2 separate regions of the Homo sapiens genome follow, and region 2 is linked to region 1. Evidence: promoter capture Hi-C in human tissues and cell types (Jung and others, 2019). All regions are on one chromosome and are shown on one strand. Each heading gives the region's core, a stretch centred on a gene start or on the middle of the fragment in contact. The rest is flanking DNA. Distances are from core to core; before and after follow the strand shown. Region 1 holds the start of IL17C (interleukin 17C). Region 2 holds the start of CHMP1A (charged multivesicular body protein 1A).

Region 1 (2,784 bases), core at 21-2,520:
TGGATAGCGGTCCTCATCCGTGTCCACACTGCGGGACGGGGTGCACAGTGAGTCTCTGGCCCTACCCTGTCCTCCTGGAGGCCCCTCTCCCCTCAGGGCCCCTCTCCGTGTACTCAGGATAGGACCTGAGGCAGCGAGGGCTGAGCCACACGGGCTTGGGGTGCAGTCGGGCTCACATGTGGTGGTAATCCACGTCTCCCCAGGGCCCTCCAAGAGCACAGAGCAGGGTCCGGAGGCCTCTAGGAGCCTCCCTTCCACTTCATCACCCAGCCCCACTTCTGCAGGAGCTCAGGTGACGGGCCCAGAATTTCCCCAGGGGACCCTGGCCACCTAGGACAGTGGGAGGCAGGGCACGGCCAGCCGCAAGCAGCAGCTCAGCCGTCCAGGTCAGGAGGGCCGGAGGGAGGGAGCTCAGGTGGCCACGCCCACTTGACAGGTGAGAACCACCAAGGCCCAGAGAGCTCTCCGGGCAGTCAGGGCCCCGCCAGGGGAGGGGCAGCCCCACGCCACAGCGGAATCCCCAGGTCCTCACCGGTATCTCCAGGGTGAGATGGAGCGCTGGTGGGTGTCTGCCTCCAACACCTCCTCCGGCCGCAGCACCGGGCACTGGGTCGTAGCTGAGGGCCTCTCGTGCCTCCCCCTGTGGCTTGCTGCCTCCAGGCTGGACACCAGGGCTACAGGCAAAGCCTGCCCCCACTTGGCACCTCGAGCCAGCAGGTGTGGGGGGGCCTGGCCGAGGGGCAGTTCCTCAGCCGAGTAGCAGTGTGGGGTACCGTGACTGTGGGGGTGCCCCCTGAGGGAGGGGTCATGGTGGGCCAGGCATGTGTGCAGCCAGGTCAGAAACAGGAGGCCGGGGAGGAGCTGGTGAAACAGGCAGGTGGGTGGTTAGGAGGTGCCCAGGGCAGGGGGCACCTCACTTCCACCTCAGCTTTCCTTGTTCCCAGCGGAAAGATGGAGTACAGCCCTCCCTCTATAGATGGGGAAACTGAAGCCCAGAGAGGCTAGCCCTTCAGCCCAAGACACCCAGCATGCCAGCGCTCCGAGGATCTGCAGCTGCCTCCCCTACCCCCAGACTGAGGGGTTTCCCAGACCCCATCCCAACACCCTCCTCCCAGGCTCAGAGAACCCCAGCCCTTCCATGCCAGGCTGCACATCCAAGCAGCATCCATCCGAGCGGCATGTGGAGAGGCTCACCGTCATGGTGGCGGCAGCGGGGCAGGCTGGGCTTGGAGCGGCCTGCACACCTGGCGGCAATCCCACAGGTGCACCTGGCCATGCACCTGGCAGCAGCCGCTCTTATACCTGAGGCCACACCTGGGGGAAATTCCGGCACCACTTCCTCCTCGGGAAGTGCCCAGCTGGGGCGCTTCTTCCTTCTCTGGTCCCCGCAGCCCCCGCCTGCTGTGCATCAGGACACAGACATGCAAGGAGGCCCCGGGAGGCGCTGTCCTGTTACCCCCCTCCCCCGAGAGAGACTCCGCCCAACCTGAGCACCTACACAGGGTGCTGCCTTGTCTGACATTCTCAAACTTTTTTTTTTTTTTTGAGACAGGGTCTTGCTGTCACCCGAGCTGGAGGGAAATGGTGCTGTCCCAGCTCACTGCAACCTCCACATCCCAGGTTCAAGCGATTCTCCTGCCTCAGGCTTCCGAGTAGCTGGGATTACAGGCACCCCCCACCATGCCTGGCTAATTTTTGTATTTTTAGTACAGACAGGGTTTTGCCATATCGGCCAGGCTGGTCTGAGGCTCCTGACCTCAAGTGATCTGCTCGCCTTGGCCTCCCAAAGTGCTGGGATTACAGGAGTGAGCCACTGCGCCCAGCCTTGAACCTCCTATAAGAGGGTTTCTGCTTGCGTATCCGTCAGCACCTTGCTGATTCAACTTGTAGGTTTTCATCTGGACCTGATGGTGGCGGGGCGCTTTTGCACCCTATACAGTTCTTCTCCGTCTGCTGCTGGTGGGTGCCAAGGGTGGTTCAGTGTTTTAGCTGAGATGGTCAAGATCAGGTGAGGCTCACGTGCCCCCTTCACCCAGGTGGGAGAGGTCCCGGAGATGGGGGAGGCAGGCACGTCTTCAGGTCTCTGTTGGGTTTCTGTGTTGTTTTTTTTTTTGTTGTTTTTTTGAGGCGGAGTCTGACTCTGTCGCCCAGGCGGGGAGTACAGTGGTGCGATCTCGGCTCACTACAAGCTCAGCTTCCTGGGTTCACGCCATTCTCCTGCCTCAGCCTGCCGGGTAGCTGGGACTACAGGCGCCCGCCACCACACCTGGCTAATTTTTTTGTATTTTTAGTAGAGACGGGGTTTCACCATGTTAGCCAGGATGGTCTCGATCTCCTGACCTCGTGATCTGCCCACCTCGGCCTCGCAAAGTGCTGGGATCACAGGCATGAGTCACTGCACCCGGCCTGGGCTTCTGTGGTTTTATTGAGAAAAAAGTTCAAGCTAAAAAGTCTGAGTTGGAGGTGTGAGGAGTGAGGTGTGAGGTGTGAATGAGGCATGAGGCGTGAGGCGTGAGGTGTGAGGTGTGACCAGCACACACAGGAAGCTTTATGTAAGCGGGGCCGGGAGCTGCCTTTGGCCTCCTTGATCGGTGAGGCTGGCTGGGGGTGGGGGCGCTGGAGGTGCCTTTGTTTCCCCGGAAAGGGACAGCTGCAGCCAGAACTTGGGAAGGTTTGAATGCCGGGGGTTTGACGTCATCCTGAGGAGGGTTGTCCTGGAGTCCCCAGGGCCCCTGGCCACATCAGAGGTGGGGGAATCTGTCCGCCCTGGTCCCCTCAGCTTCG
Region 2 (2,753 bases), core at 12-2,511, 1.0 Mb before region 1:
GATGGAAAACTTTGTATTCTAGCTTCTTCCTACTTTTGGGGCCTCATCTTCCCCACACACACCCAAAGGTCTGGCCACACTAGGCTGTTATAAAAGACACCTTTGTCGCACCCAGGTTCTACTCCTCGGTCACCCTCCGCAATGTACTTATCCCCACAGCCCTCGGAGAGCTACAGTCCAGCCTGGGACGGCCTCCCAATGCTCTGTTCCAGTGTGCGGAGGCTCAGGGATTCTCAGTGGCACCAAGATACCCAGCCCTCGAGGAGAACCTCAGGTGAGACACACGCACACTGCCCCAGCCCCTCGACCACCTGGTACGCACTTATCACTCGGGAACTGACCTACATTTTCATTAAACTTATGTTTTCAACTAAGATTTCTGGATATTTACCTCCTACATAAAGTTCCCAAAACAAACCAGTTTCATCTTTACGGCGCGTGCCTGCTACTAGTGTCCATCCGGTAGGGTCTTACAGTAGGCTCCTCACCCCAGCCCCAGATCCTCCAAGCCACTGACCTCGCTTCGCTCCCTCCCGCCGTCTCCTACCTTCCAGCGAAGCTGCCGGCGGCGGGTGCTTGGCTGTCCCGGCCCCCGGGTGGAGGCTGTCCACAGGCTTCTCCGACTCCCTGTCTGCCTGCCTGGCTTCCTGGGAATGCTTCTCCATCAACTTCTCCTTAGATTTTGGAACTGAATAGGTGGATCCCTTCTTTTGCTCCTCACCTGAAATATATGGATCATCCGTTAGACCCGGGACTTACCGAATGCAGGGCAGTGGGTCCCATCGTCTTCAGTCGCCTGCGTGGGTCCAGAATAAGCTGGCTTCAAGTCTCGAGTCTCCGCGTTTCCGTAACCGCCTCAGGCGGGAAACGCGCCGTCCGTGGCGGACTCGGCGGCAGGAACGGTTCGCACCGGGCCGAGCCTGGCGCCTGCGCTCACACCGCCCCGCCCAGCCCAGCCCCGCCCTGGGCCCGCGCCCAGGGGCGGAGACGCGGGGAGCCCAGCGCCTGCGCCTCCTTTACCTTTCCTGGGTTTCTCTTTGCTTTTGGAAAGGCCCATGGGTGAGCCCACCGCCCCCTCCGACGCAAGCCCGGGTCCCCACACCTCCGCGGCCGCGGAGCCGGGAGCGACTCACAAAAGGTCCTCGCGCCAGCGGCGTGCGTCACCATGGCGACCGCGCGCCGCGCAGCCGCGCCCCGCCCCTCTGGCGGGACCGGCCACCATCCTCTCGCGAGAGCATCCCGTGCGACCGGAAGTGGGGCGGCGACCCCGGAAGTCCCCGCCGGGTGCAGCTTGGTCGGTTCGATCGCCGCCGGGACCTGACACCGCCCGGAGTTGGCGTCCCTTCTCCCTCTCCGAGTGCTGCTCCTGTCATTGTGGCCATGGACGGTAAGAGGTCGCGGCCGTCCTCCGGGGACTCGCGCGCGGGGCGGGGCCGCTTCTCCCACTGGCGTGGGCTCCGCCCACCTGGGGCCGCGGGCAGGACTCAGGAGAGCTCGGGCCTCGACCGTCGATCCCCCGGGACCCCATCCCCAGGGCCTCGACCACCGACCTGGGACCCCTTTTCCCGGTCGTCGTCCCCCGATCCCCGACCCGGACCCCATCCCCAGGGCCTCGACCACCGACCTGGGACCCCTTTTCCCGAGCCTCGTCCCCCGATACCCGACCCGGAACCCCTTCCCCAGGGCCTAGACCACCAACCCGGGACCCCTTTTCCCGGGCCTCGACCCTCGATCCCCGACCCGGAACCCCTTCCCCAGGGCCTCTACCACCGACCCGGGACCCCTTCTCCCGGGCCTCGACCCCCGACCACCGACCGGGACCCTTCCCAGGCCCCCGACCCCCAACCCGAGATCCTTTACCCCGGGCCTCGACCCTCGACCCGGGACCCCTCCCCCCAGGCCTCGATCCCCGACCCCCGATTCGGGACCCCTTCCCCGGGGCCTCCATCCCCAAATCTCAACCCGGTATGCCTTCCCCGGGGCCTCGACCTCTGACCCCCAACCATGGACCCGGGACCTAGACTCCCGACCCAGGACCCCTTGCCCAGGGCCTGGACCCCCGACCACCGACCCAGGACCCTTTCCCCCGCCCCTGGCACTCCTCAGCGTCAGGCGCCCTTTCCCGCCAGCTCGGTAGGGGGGACTGTGCGATGCCTGTTCGGCCTTTCGGGACTTGGAATGTCGGGTCAGAGGGCACCAGAAAAAGTGACAGTTGCACCCCCTGCCCCAAACAGCATCACTGCAAATCAGAAGGACTCAGACAGAAAGCGCTCCCTGAGTGCCAGGCCCTGGTCACAGCAGCTCTTTGCGTCCATTCTCCATGTGGGGAAGCAGAGGTTTGAGCAGGAGCCAGCACAAGCGTTTCTGTGCTCAATGGGTCGCCCTAATTCTTACCTTCTACATCTGGGGCTAGCCGGCTGTGTGCTCAGGGATACCAAAGAACAGGAAGAATCTGGCAAAATGAAGTCCTATGTTTGCTGAAACATCGTTGGGCTGGTGTGATGGGCAGGCTTTTAAAAATACTTTTTGAAGGGCTGGGCGCGGTGGCTCACGCCTGTAATCCCAGCACTTTGGGAGGCCGAGGCCGGCGGATCGCAAGGTCAGGAGATCGAGACCATCCTGGCTAACACAGTGAAACCCCATCTCTACTAGAAATACAAAAATATTAGCCAGGCGTGGTGGCGGGTGCCTGTAGTCCCAGCTACTCGGGAGGCTGAGGCAGGAGAATGGCGTGAACCCGGGAGGCGGAGCTT

The links. The method cuts DNA at HindIII sites, captures the fragments that hold promoters and counts their contacts. A contact is called where the count stands out against the background at its distance.
Region 2: a contact is called between the fragment with the promoter of CHMP1A here and the fragment with the promoter of IL17C in region 1, in 1 of the 25 tissues and cell types used here (stomach).

What each region holds. Positions count from the first base shown.
Region 1 is chr16:88,637,058-88,639,841 of GRCh38, reverse strand. IL17C (interleukin 17C) reads right to left here and starts at 1,270. Exons shown (of 3, transcript NM_013278.4): 1 at 1,195-1,270; 2 at 533-861; 3 at 1-28. The coding sequence starts at 1,200. It overlaps LOC124903755 (a long non-coding RNA gene), which reads right to left. Exons shown (of 2, transcript XR_007065181.1): 2 at 2,408-2,784. The HindIII fragment of the contact is 16,303 bases long and covers 1-2,784 here.
Region 2 is chr16:89,656,216-89,658,968 of GRCh38, reverse strand. CHMP1A (charged multivesicular body protein 1A) reads left to right here and starts at 1,261. Exons shown (of 7, transcript NM_002768.5): 1 at 1,261-1,387. The coding sequence starts at 1,381. It overlaps SPATA33 (spermatogenesis associated 33), which reads right to left and starts at 1,133. Exons shown (of 3, transcript NM_001271907.2): 1 at 1,021-1,133; 2 at 548-721. The coding sequence starts at 1,057. RefSeq lists an enhancer at 980-1,149 and silencers at 865-1,254, 1,475-1,534. The HindIII fragment of the contact is 33,607 bases long and covers 1-2,753 here.